Regions from separate parts of the Homo sapiens genome. Here all the other regions are linked to region 2. Evidence: promoter capture Hi-C in human tissues and cell types (Jung and others, 2019). All regions are on one chromosome and are shown on one strand. Each heading gives the region's core, a stretch centred on a gene start or on the middle of the fragment in contact. The rest is flanking DNA. Distances are from core to core; before and after follow the strand shown. Region 1 overlaps ONECUT2 (one cut homeobox 2). Region 2 holds the start of BOD1L2 (biorientation of chromosomes in cell division 1 like 2). Region 3 overlaps WDR7 (WD repeat domain 7).

The links. The method cuts DNA at HindIII sites, captures the fragments that hold promoters and counts their contacts. A contact is called where the count stands out against the background at its distance.
Region 1: a fragment that was not itself captured here is called in contact with the fragment with the promoter of BOD1L2 in region 2 in 1 of the 25 tissues and cell types used here (liver).
Region 3: a fragment that was not itself captured here is called in contact with the fragment with the promoter of BOD1L2 in region 2 in 4 of the 25 tissues and cell types used here (IMR-90 fibroblasts, hippocampus, mesenchymal stem cells and 1 more).

Annotation. Positions count from the first base shown.
Region 1 is chr18:57,486,843-57,491,327 of GRCh38, reverse strand. It overlaps ONECUT2 (one cut homeobox 2), which reads right to left. Exons shown (of 2, transcript NM_004852.3): 2 at 30-4,485. Among named protein-coding and RNA genes, the nearest start is that of ONECUT2, 54 kb to the right of the region's middle. The HindIII fragment of the contact is 3,886 bases long and covers 901-4,485 here.
Region 2 is chr18:57,145,263-57,149,934 of GRCh38, reverse strand. BOD1L2 (biorientation of chromosomes in cell division 1 like 2) reads right to left here and starts at 2,848. Exons shown (of 1, transcript NM_001257964.2): 1 at 1-2,848. The coding sequence starts at 2,622. The coding sequence ends at 2,104. RefSeq lists an enhancer at 2,084-2,679. The HindIII fragment of the contact is 20,182 bases long and covers 1-4,416 here.
Region 3 is chr18:56,782,353-56,786,512 of GRCh38, reverse strand. The region is part of intron 19 of WDR7 (WD repeat domain 7); the gene reads right to left. Among named protein-coding and RNA genes, the nearest start is that of WDR7, 130 kb to the right of the region's middle. The HindIII fragment of the contact is 4,854 bases long and covers 1-4,160 here.

The DNA of each region.
Region 1 (4,485 bases), core at 1,594-4,093, 340 kb before region 2:
AAAAGAAAAAGAAGGCAACTGAGCCATGGTCAATGAATTAAAGCAGTTTATTTAACATTAATTGCAGAATTTACAGCACTACCATTTAATGATAGGAATAAAAATAGAAAGAATCCAGTGTAAGCGATGTTGCAGACAAAACATTGGGGTGGGAAATGAGCAAAACTGAAAATGCAATTAACATTCAAAGAAATCTTCCAAAAGGACTGGGAGCTTATCAGGGGATGGGCATCCCCTTGATGATGAAGCGTGATCCTCATCCCCACCAGGATTTCAGGGCAGCCACTGAACATATACCCTGTTGACCGTCCCTGGAAAGTCTTTCAGCACAGTCTGACTTAACATGTTTGAGATGGGGCAATATCTGGATTATAATACACTTTGGAAATATAGCGCAGGGTGAAAGACGGTAATAGTGTGCATTTGTGTGTGGGTTTTCTTTTTCAAAACGGAAGAGAGTGCAAATTTTAGGGGTGTGTTTTCCTGATTTTAAACATGAGAGGTGATGTCAAAGGGATCAACTGAAAAGAAAAGTTTAAAGTTTTTCCCTACGATTTTCTTGGCAATAATACCCGTGAAAGCAAGAAAATAAAACAAGAGGCGTATATGTGACTCTCTGATCTCTTGTCCTTTTGGAATCTGGAAAGAGACTTTTAAAAGGTAGTTGGGTTTCCACAAAGGACTGAGTTTCTAGAATAGCTACCTGGAAGGCAGGTGGCAGAGTACGGTCTTTGAGCATATGGTCAACGGAGGCTCACACTCTATAGCCATTTTCCCATAATTTAATGGGTCCCTTTTTAAATTTTGAAACTTTAAACAGATCTGGGACAAATTCTTCTCTCTTTACCTCCTCCTTTCTTCCCTCATTATAGTCACCTTTCAATACCATCAAGCAGTCAACAGTATAGAACAAAGGATGCAAGTTCTGCAGGCCAGCATGTGAAATTTAAAGGTATTTTTAAATAGCAAGAATAAACACATCTGAGGCCAGGGTCTAAAGTGAGAAAAGACCCAGGACTGACTTGGATTCTGAGAACAAAACTGGATGGAAGAAAAGATACTGGAACTTGTTTTCACTCACTTTGGTGGAAGGATAGCTCCTCTTGTAATAATTCACTGACCAAGGAAGGATCTACAGTATCTGTGTTAATAAAGTATTGTCTGGGTGGAAAAATTTGAATAGAAAGAATGAAAAAAAATGGACCAGCTCTTTCCCTCTGGTCCAGGAGAACACTTTTGAGAAATGCAAAGATGAAGAAGAGAACTAATTGAAATGCTGGTCAATCCCTAATTATCTTTTCCTATGATGCTCTTTGGCATCCTAGACTTGGGGAGAAAAGACTGAACTGCTCTTGGATTGAGAAAGGTTAGGTGATCGAAGATACGAATTAAAAGAGAAACCAACACCAAGATTTTGCCTGTATCATCTCAGTCCCTGCATCTAAACTTTAGTGGTTATTTATCAAGTTATCAATGTGGAGCTTGTGTTTTTGTTTCAGAAATTTCAGTATGCCAGGTGTTTTACAACATTTCACGGTAAGAAGTTTGCTGGCACCACTTGGACTTGTGTAACACAAAACTGTAAAGAAAGGAAATAATATTCTACCTTCAAGGAAGTATCTGTTAATGGTATGACTACCTATCCGATTGCTAGTCTTCGGACTCTTTTCTTCCCAGGTGGCAGGTTCCTTGTCATAATCTGAAAAAACTTTCCTAGAGATAAAGCTGACTCTTATGCTAAAGGCCAAACTGGACCAAAGCAAAGGATATGGGGGGATAAAAACCTCAAACTCTACAACTTTTTGAATAGGATTTTCAAGCAGAGATAAAGTAGGCATTGATGGGCCATGTTTTTGGCTGGGGCAATAGCTGTGATTCAGCCTGTCGCCCAAGACAGATCAACAGCATAGGCAATGTGCACTGCCCCTGCCCCCTGAGATGGGAGCAAAGCACAGGGAGATAGTGGGGTCTCCTTTTCCCTCTTGTATTTTTCCAGATCAAAGAATTGAGAATTGCTAAAATATAACCTAGCAAACAATAGGAAACCCCATTCCATACCTTTCTTTGTTTTCTAAATAATCATCTCCAAAAGGTATAGATGGGATAGCTAAACAGGATGCAGAGGATGGTGGGAGGGGGACTTCTGATGTGGAAGAGCCCCACTGGATGGAGGGGACCTGGATCCTTTGCAACCCCAGGATGGAGGAAGAAGCCTTTGGTAATGTCCCATGTAAAGCCACCAGATGGGCTGCAATAGCCTTGACTGGATAGTGTGCAAGGTGGGGAAAGGTGAGTGCCTGGTGGCCCACAGAAGATTCAAGGTTACTATTTTCTTTTTCTTGCCTTTCATGTATGAACTGGAGTCTGCCTTCATGCTGGCACATGCTCAAGACCAAAGGATTGCAGGGAAGTGTTGGAGTCCAGAGAGAGTGAGGTTAGAGATTTTTGGCCCAGTTCTCTTTAAAGCTGACAGATACAGAGATTTCTTCCTAGTACCAAAACCTACCTTCCAGCCCATGACCTGCCTTTTCCCAGGCCAGGCCCATGTTTCCCCAAGAGGGCAGGAGAGAAAACCAGGCCAAGCTGAGGTAATTTTGTAGTTATGTGTCTCCAAGGAAAAGGACATCCATTGGCACAAAGCACTGAGTAAAAACCCTTTAATAACAAAATAACATTCATGATGTAGCTACTTCAGTTGTCTGGAAAACTCAGCTTACACTTGATTCAACATACCACTTTCCACAATGTTAAAAGAAAAGGACATAAAATGGCATAACAAAATATACCTTGGGTTTCATAAGACAAGTCTTCTTGGCAAAGTGTAACCAGCCAGACCCATGCATTGCCTGTGATTAAAAAAAGGGCTGGGTACACTCATGTCTCAAATACTCCTCTACTTTCTTTGGATCAAAAATGGATTTGAACTTTGTAGATTCTACAATATCTGCATTAAGAGGAACAGTTTGTGGGTTTGTGAGTGTCAGGAAAACTTTGCTGAAACAAATATCAATTTTATTGTGGAACAACATATAAAGCTTTCTGGAAGATTAAACACTATTACAATCATCAATTGTCTTACAAAAGCCAATTTGAAAAATTCTTGTATCTGTTCCCATCTTTGGCAGATTAATAAGAGAAAAATAAAAAGACTATATATCAAAGTTTACATTACCACAACCTAATTTATAAGGCCAAATAAAAATATGTTGCTTTTTATTATTCACGAGAGCACGTTCCCAATATACCCTCATTGACAGATAATATGAATGCTACACTGTCAGTGATTTCCAATATTTTGCATAGCAGACTGCTGCTTTTCAACCAAGGTTCCCTAGGCTGCATACTCCTATGCAAAATAAAGTGTGCTTGGCAGTTGATTTGGCTTTATGTCAAGCATTTTGGTTTGGGAAATATGAAACTGGAGAATGGGTCTTTGAACCCAAGTATAAGAAAGAACAAGTTTGCCCAATCCCCTGCAACTGAAAAATAGTTTTGACATATAGAGGCCTCAGATAATTGAAGGATTTAAAGAAGATGGTTTTCCTAAAGTGGGTTTCAAAACTTCTTCTTATATTACCTTTTAGATGGTAGATGGAACATTGTTGGGCAGGTAAAAATTAAGTGAGAGTCACCTCCAAGTCTAGGGAGGGACAGCCATGATAGCTGCACATGTGAAGTTTTGGGAAATGGCTGCGTATTTTTGCCCAAATCACTGGAACAGTTGGTGGGAATGTCTAGGAGAGTGGACAAAAGAGAAGTGGGCAGAGAAGAGTTAGTAATATTGATGCCATTTGAGTTTCTACTGGGAGCTGACCTGATCACAAAATACGAGAAGAAACCACGCATAGTCAAAAATAGCCATTCCCAAGCAGAGATCAAAGAGGGCCACAGCTAGATGAATTTGCATCTACATATACATGGCCAGTTAGGTCTAAGTTCATGAGCATAAAGCCAAAATAACTCCTTTTGGTGGAAATTAAATATGCAAAGGTGAGTTTTTCAATACTCGCTTTCAAATCCCTCTCACATACGGTGATATATTTGGGTTATGAGGATCCCAATTTGTGGAATGCAAATTGGCTAACTCAAAAATTAGGAATAACGTTTCTCATTATAAAGCTGGAACCCAATTCAATGTGACTCATTTTCAGATCCCAACAGATGTAAAGGGTATTTTCGAGGTGACACATCTCCCAATAAAACCAATATTACCACCGTCTGAGGCTGAACTGTGTACATTTTCACAGTTTAATGTATACACAACTGTTCCACAACTGCTAACAAACAATAGGCGCCCATGCATAAATAAAGTCCATTGAACCAAAGGGGAAGATCTAGTTCAAAATGAAAAATGTTGCTATTAAGACCACAATGCATCACACTGCTAAATTTTTAGCCTCATGCATAAAATTATAGCACTGATTGGCAGTTGCTAATCATAATACTACACTGTTAACACGGAACAATTAATTGTTCAGACCAAGT
Region 2 (4,672 bases), core at 1,599-4,098:
GTATTACACTTTATTACGTTATTTTTAAAAAGAAGAAGGAGAACAAACCCCAAACCAAAAATCACTTCCGCAACACATTTCTTAAAAGCAGAAATTAGGTTCCTTTTATGTTAGTGCAAAGATAGGTGCCAAGCTGGGGTCTCAGATGGAGTGATTTTAAATCTCAGAAAGAGCTTAGCTGTTTTTGTAAAAAGGAAAGTTGGCAAGTGATTAGTGCCGATGTGGCCCAGCTGCTCTTTTGTACTTCGAAAGAAACAATTAAAATGGCTGGGACATTAAACTTTAAAGAGCTGGGTTGTTCATATTCAGAAGCTAATTTTAAAAAGAGCCTGGTACCTGGGAAAGGAAGGGACATTTTCAGAAAGGACATGGTCTTCTACCTTCTGGACTCTAAATTTTGAAGAATCATTTAAAATAGCTCATAGGTAAACATTACAGATAAAATACCTCCAGGGATAAGAAAGCTCTTTCTTGCTTAGACATGTAGACACTAGATGCAAAATTAATTTTTGTTCACTTTTTAGATGATAAATACTGCCATCTGAGAAATTAAATGTTGGAAAAGACAAATCCAGAACTGGTTTCTTTCTACAAATTGCTGAGCTCCTGTGATGTGCTAGGTCCTGGGGTTAAGGAAAAGAAATGAACAAAGCAAATCCCTGCCCTGGAGGAAGCTCACATTTAAGTGGGGATGACAGATCTGTAAGCAAAGACAGTTCACTGTGGTGAGGTGGTGTGGCTAAAAGCATGGTTAAAAGGGTTAAAAGTGAGGGCTCTGTGCTCAATACAGGCTCAGCCCCAGCCCCACCACTTAGGCAGTGTCTGAGCTTTGGTTTCTACATTTATAAATGGGAATAAAAATGGGAATAAAGATACGATTTCTTCAATTAGATCATGAGGACTTACTACGGTAAGCGAAGTTAAGCGTTTAGTACACTGCCAGCTGTAGAGCAATAGAGCAAGTGCTTCGTCAGACCTAGCTACTATAGTAAGTGTGGTCATCCCTTATGAGATCTATGGGAGCACAGAGGAAGGAGTCTGTCACTCCTGCTTAGACGATGTGTGGCTCCTCAGGAGCTGAGTCTTAAAGGAGGGTAGGAGTGGTTGAGGGCATTCCCTTCACAGTGAGCAGAGGGAACACAGGGTGTCCAGGATAGTCATGGGCATGGTTGTCATATGAGAAATGACAGTGTACGGGGCAGCAGAGGTGACCAGGGGCCCCATTATCACGGGCCTCATAAACCATGCCAGGTGTCTGACCTTCTAGAAATATCAGAAAACTGACGGAGCTTAAAGAGGAAAAGGATGTAAATCTGCATTTCTTTTTTGTTGTTGCAGTTGAAAGATAAGCCATTTATTGACCATCCACTTTTCAAATAAAACACAAATGTGAGCATAACATAAACACACCCAAGACTCACTAGCCCCTGCAAGACAGGAAGCATTCTTGGACAGAGAGTCTGCAAATGAGTTTCCTTATACCTAATGTCTGAACTTCTCACTCATTCTAGGGTTTCATGCTTTGTTATCTCTTACAAAGGAAAGGAAACTGGCTAGAAGATTCATGTACAAGAAGGTCACAACTTCAAAGCTATCTGACACTAATGTTGTGTACAATCTAGTTTGCAACTCTGAGAGACAATATCAAATAAGTACTGTCAAATATTCCTCCCAGTTAACCTTTACTGTCATTGTTCTTTGAAATTGTCTTTGGGATTGGTTATGTTCTCTCGCTGTAGCTTTCGTTTATCTCAGAGCACAAACCCTAAAATCCATGTGCAGTCTCCATGTTCAAGTATAGATGTCTGTTTCAGGACAATCCTGGGTCGCGGTAGTGTTTCCCTCTCTGTAGTGTGTGTTTGGTGTCATGCCCTTGGAAAGGCTGGCCAAATGGCAGCGCAATGCAGGAGGGTGCCACGGTCAACTTTCTCTCTGGCGAACTTGCTTCCCTTTCAATCTGGTCACTGCTCATGGTCGAGGTGGAAATCTTGAGCTCAGTGATGAACTTGGCTTATCTTCAATCTGAAACTGCACTCTTATGTAACCGAATCCATTTCTTCACCAAAAATTAAATAGCGCTTTCAAAAGCTGTCAGGCATATTCTTAGGAAGTGTCCTGAGACGGAGCTGGAGGGTCCTGGCCTTCTGGCTCTGGAGGGAGTGCTGGCACAGCTGCTTCTTTCTGGGCCACCAGGAATTCATGAATTATTTGTTCTATTTGTGGCCTGAAGATGTGGTTTAGTTTTGGATCCACCACCTGAGAACTAATCCTGTCCACTCCAGCTTCTGACCTCCCTGACTGAACCACACTCTGCCTCAGACCATCGTGCAGTTGGTTGTCGTTTGCTGGAGGATTCCATTCCTGCTTGTCCAGATGTGTCGACACAAAATTATCCGCTTTCTGGCTCAGGTTTTGGTAAGCTGGCTTGGTGTCCACGTCAGCCTTGCAGTCCCGGCGGAAGCTGTCAAAAAGGCCCCTGCTCTTGAGCTGCCCCACGATGATAGCGATGAGCTGAGGGTCGCCAGGGGGCAACGAGGCCGGGTTGATGGGGCCGCCGCCCCCGCTGGCCCGGGTCGAGGCCGGGCCCGCACCGCCGCTGCCGCCGCCGCCACCGTCCGCCATGGCTGCGCACCGGGCCCACAAGGAAACCGATTATAGCTTCTTCTCCAGGACAGAAAGCCTAGAATGTGTAGAGGTGGCTAAGGGGGCGGTGAAGGAGGAGGGCCCCAAGGAGGCAGCGGCGGAGGTGACGGTGGTGGTGATGGCGGCGGGGCCGGTGGTTGGGGCGGCGGTGGGGGAGGCCAGCTCCAGACCGCGGAGGTTGTGGAAGACGCGGCAGCAACCGCCTGCTGGATTCCAAGCGCGCTCCAGATGGCGTCACCGTTGACCTTTGCATTGTGAGGCGGGAACCGTAATCTGCATTTCTTAAAAGATCTCTAAGAGGGAGGTGGGAAACAAATGCCAGTGGGCAAGGGCGAAACAGGGAGACAATTTCAGCAACCATTTCAGTGCCCTAAGAAGGAGATGGCGAGGAGTGAATGATCTTCGTGGCCTGGCAGGTGAAGAAGGTAACAGGGATACAAGAGATATTTAGGAGATAGACTCATCCCAGGGATTGGAGAACAACGGGGTGAGGGACGAGGGAAAGGAGAGGGTCAAGGATGACCCCCAGGCTTCTCACTTGGGCAGGTGCATGGAGGTGCCATTTACTAAATGGAGAACAGGTATAGAGGTGAGGATGGGAGACAGAGACATGATCGTGCATTCCATTTTTATTTACTAGTTTAAGATGGGTATGGGTTATTCAGATGCAGACATCTGCCTATGAAGTCCAAAGATACAAGGACTAGGGGCTGGGGAGAGACATCTAACTCACTGAAGGTAGAGACTATAGGTGGCAATTACAATGGAGAACTTAGAAGAGATAGAGGAACACCTGGAGAGCCCATGAGGGGGACTGAGAACAACACTAAAAAGATGGAGGGAAAACTACAAAAGCCTTGGATCATAGACCGCAAAAGGTACATTTCATGAAGGCCATGGGTGAAATGCCACACTATGTTCCACAAGGTGTCCATTGGCTTTGGTAGCCATTGATGAGCCTAGGGCAGATGTGTCAGTCAGAAGGAGGTCATTTCAACAAGAGAACTGTATTGCAACCAAGAGCCACAAAAGGCAACCACATCCAGCGCCATCCAATAGAGAAGTGCAGGTGCACAGAAAGAACCTTCTATCAATATTTCAAAAGAAAAGCAGATCCCTGATTTCACCCCAACACTCACTTCCCTGAATTAAAATGCCCCTGAGATGTAGACACCACATTGTTCTATAAGCCGTAACATAGCTTAAAGGTAGTATATTTCACAAAGAAAGTTTACACAACAGACTCTGTCAATAACCTCACCCCATAGCTTCTGACATACAAGTACAGATGCCTCAGATGGACGTATTCTGAATCTCATCCCACAGGAGACAGTGAACCTACCAAGACTTCACCACAGCAACCCCCTACCTATGCTCCTCACCATCCCCATGATCAGCTCGACAATTCAGTTCTGTATTTTTTTAAATTAATCAATATTTATTGAGGGACTAGTCGATGTGGCCCTGTGCTAAGCTTTATGGAGCTCTCCACGTGCCTGGCCCAGTCTAACACTCAATAAATGTTTGCTGTGGCTGTTGTTTAAGACAGGCAACATGGCCAGCCTTTGAAAAGCTTACAATCTAGTTGGAGAGGGGAGATGTTGACAGAGAAAACCATTGAGGACATACACAAGCTCCATGGGAACTTAGATGCAACATGCACACCTAGCATGGTGCCTGGAACAAAAGAGAGGCACCATTAATATTTGCAGAATAAAGATTGCATAGATGAAAGGAGGGTGTCCCTGTCATGTGTTGGAGAACACTGAAGCCTGGGAGAACGTGGCAGATGGAAGAAGACTTTGCAGAAGTGCTGGAGCCTGAACTGAGTCTTCATTTATCCCCTCACTGTGCATGAGCCCTTCAGATTGCACAGGAGTTCTCTTAGAATGCAATCACCTATGTGGATCCAAGATGAGATCTATGGGGTTCTCCAATCACAGCCTCACCCACAGAGGGACACTTACCTAAGCTTTTGAAAGTGATGATAATAACAATCATATTGCAGTGTTCCATTCTGTACTGAAAA
Region 3 (4,160 bases), core at 887-3,386, 360 kb after region 2:
CTGTCACCCAGGCTGGAGTGCAGTGGCGCGATCTTGGCTCACTGCAACTTCTGCCTCCCGGGTTCAAGCAATTCTCCTGCCTAAGCCTCCCGAGTAGCTGGGACTACAGGTGCACGCAGCCATGCCCGGCTAAATTTTGTATTTAGTAGAGACTGTTTTTCACCCTGTTGCCCAGGCTGGTCTTGAACTCCTGAGCTCAGGCAATCCGCCCGCTTCGGCCTCCCAAAGTGCTAGGATTACAGGCGTGAGCCACTGCGCCCGGTAAGGACTTTATTCTTATAACAATCTGTGAGCTGGCTTTTCAGTTAAGACAGACTATTGCTCCTTTTTCTTCCCCAGTGATCTCCAGTCTGGCAGTGATCTGCCAGAATCCCTGGGCAATATAAATTAAAGTGAATTCTGAGGCAGTGGCAATAAAGAGAACAAAACTATAGAAACCAACATAGAAAAGGAAAGGTACAGCCAGCCAACGTTCTGTACTTGTATTATGCACTTTACATTAAAAGCGTTACAAAGAGTTTCTCTTTTCATGCTCTCCTGTCCTGAGAGCCAGGCATGGTGGTGTGCACCTTTAGTTCCAGCTACTCAGGAGGCTGAGGCGGGAAGATCCCTTGAGCCTAGGAGTTCAAGTCCAGCCAGGACAACACAGCGAGACCCTGTCTCTTTAAAAAAAAAAAAAAAAGAAAAAGAAAAAAAGAATCCTGAGAAAAGCAACTGGCTCATTGTTTTCCTTACATTCTCAAACTAACCTGCAAACGGCTTTTTATTGCATAATGTACCTAAATAAAATATAGAAGATCCCAGTCAGTAAGACCAGATGCTTTATCATCTTAGTCCCAGCCCAATCACTTACGGACTGTGAAGTAGAGATAGTTACCACCCACATTAAACTTCATCTCTAAGATGAAGAGCTATCACAGTCCATCAGCCCAGTATGCCATTCTGCTCTTCAGGTAAGAGCGTTTTCTGATTTTCAGACAAATATGTAAGAAAAGGACTCTTAGACAAAGCTCAATTTTAAGTTAGGAGCTGCCAAGATTGCTTAGGGAATTATTGCATTTTGTAAAGTGCCTAGAATTATTAAATTATAAGAAAATATCTGATGGGTGGTATATTTGTCAGATATATTGTTTAATATTTTGCCCATTTTCAAAGAAGATTCTTATGCTAGAAACAGGTTTTGCATTTCTAAAGCAATACTTTACGATGTAACTTGCCACAATGATCATCTCAAACATTAATGACAATGGTAGAGGCGATTTCAGTACAAGCACGTTGATGGCAGGTGTGGGCTGTCTACCAGCTGGCTCCATAACCTTTTGATCCCTTCGGACAGCAAATCTGTTCAACAGCCCTATGTGGTCATTCCTCATTTGTTGTAAGCTTTCTTCTCCTTTCATACGTTCAGAATCCCTACTCCCTTAGCCTGACACCCTTTTATTAAAATAGAAAGCTCACAGTAAAGCAAACTAAAACGAGTTTAACACTCAGTCAATGTAGAAGTTCCAGAAAAGATTAATGTATTATATCAAGAGTTGTCAGTGCATGTTTCAGTTACATGTAGAATGCATGTTTGTCTTTCACAAAAAAAAAAACAACAACAATAAATGACAAGATCAAAGTTTTAAGTAAGCCAGCATTTAGCTAATATATGAAGTACTCTGGGATACTATAATCAAATACAAAAGACTTACATAAATACAAAACTTAAATATACAACATAAACATAATACATAAACAGAAAGGTTTAAATATGACATAAGAACAGCCTACTTTATACTTAAACAGTGACCAGACCCATCAAAGAGTCATTTTCTTACAATTTTTGTGACTCCATTTTGTTGTCGTTAACTGTAACACGGCTGCAAAGAACAGTGTCTGAAAGCAATATTAGTTAAGCTAAGTATCTACTCATTCTTCCATCTTCATCCCCATTTAAGATCCAAGGATGCCAGAGCAAGCAAGATGGAATAAATAGTGATTAATATACGTTCTCACTTATAAGTGGGAGCTAAATTCTGAGTATGCAAAGTCACACAGAGTGATATAATGGATTATGGAGACTCAGAAGGGGAAGGGTGGAGGAAGGGTGAGGGATAAAAAAAGCTACGTATTGGGTATAATGTACAGCAATGTGCACCTTTACCCTCCAGGTGAAGGCTGCACTAAAATCTCACACTTTACCACCTTACACTCCATCTATGTAACCAAAAACCATTTATACACCAAAAGCTATTGAAATAAAAAATAATTTTTTAAAAAAAGGAATAAATAGTGGTTACAAGAATAAGTTTTGGAGTCTGTCACTTAGTAACTGAGGGACCTTCAGAAAATTCTTTAATCTCTCCTGGCCTCCCATTTACTCCTCTGAAAGAAAACAAAAGGCTGGGGGCAGAGGCAGGCCGTGATGGCAATAGTGGGTACTTTACAAGGTTATTGTAATGGTTAAATGAAATAACGTAGACCAGATACTTAGCAAAGCCTGACGCAGACAAAGTGTCCAATTAATGGTAGGTATTACTATTTTACTTATATTTTATTCTCTCTGGGCCTGCTAACACACCTCTCTCCAAACAACATACACAGTTCTGGCACTGCTTCAGGGAGTAATTTGTGGCTATATTTTGCCTTTACCTTGTAGCTAACTTATTCTCTTCTTCCCAGGAATAAAATAAAAAGGCATCCACTACAATTGCTAATGGCATCTCTTTTTCCCAACGTTTTTCTCTGTCAAGAATACAACCCTGTACTAATCTTTGGTGTTTTTCTTAGACCTTTATAAGCAATCAATAATCAAGTCTTAGAAATTATCTTTTATTCTACCCTATCTACATTTAGGTCTGGTTCCCATAACCTCCCTTCTGCAATAGCCTGCCAGCTAGTTATTCTACTTTAATCAATTTCCCTACTTCACACGAGTCCATTTGGAATAAAGATGTCTTAAAAGCACCAATGTCTCAATATTTCCATAATAGCATTCTTATTTTTAAAAAAATTCTTTAGTGATTTGCCATTGCCTATTTTCACCTTCAAACAACTCTGTAAATACTATAGTCATAGTTTGTCCTTAATTTTGGGGATCTTATATTCAATAAAGCTTATGATGAGATGATCATCTAACTATATTTTCTGGAATATTATAAAGTTAATGCCCACAAATTATGAACAAAGAACACTTTTTCCGGACTACCTTCTCATCTACTCAAAGACAAAGTTCTTTTCATCCCAATTTTATTTTTTTGAAACTCTTTTTTATATTCTGGAAATTTGAAAATCTGCACATATTTTTAAAACAATCTTAAGCCTAATAACTTAGAGTCTATATGTCTAGATGCCTTGTTTTTTTTTTTAACTTAATTTGCTTTATTAAAATAGAAAAATTTCCAGAAAGCAAATGATAACCTATATTCACTAAGTAAATATTTTATTGCTCAAACAATTAAGAATTTTCACTGGAGCTGTTAATGTGTGATACTTCGGCTATAAGTGAAATAAATATTTGCATTTTTATAGATTATAAAGTATTTAACAAAAGTATTATGCTTACTATGGGCTAGGAATTGTTCTACGCACTTAACAAAGATTAACTCATGCCACACACATAATAACCCTATAAAGTCCTATTATCATCTTTATTTCATCTGCGATAAAACTGAGACTAAGAAAGCTTAAGAAAAGTGCCCAAGGTCACATGCTTGATTAAACATCCACTAGAGTCACCACTGGCAAAGATCTGGTAGAGTTTAAACCAGATATAAAAGTTATAAACCTTTCTGAATTTTGTTTTCATTTTCCTTCTTGTATAATAATGTACTGTCCATCTTGACATGTGTAATGAGTATTTCATTACAAAGAATAACTGGTATTGGCAAAAGGTCATTTAAAATGAGTCCACCTAAAACCCAGGCCAAATTTTCATAATAAAAAGTTTTTTTTAAAGTTTCACTCACACTTTATCTTGCAAAACTGAAAATTTATCTTACAATGAATATAATTTAGGGTAAAATTTTAATTTTAATTCAATATAATTTAGGGTAAAATTTTTTAATCAATATAATTAAGAGCAAAATTAAAATTTTATTTGACTCAATTATATTGATTATAATTTAGTCACTTAGTAACTGAGGGACCTTAAAAAAATTATTTAGTAACTAAACTGT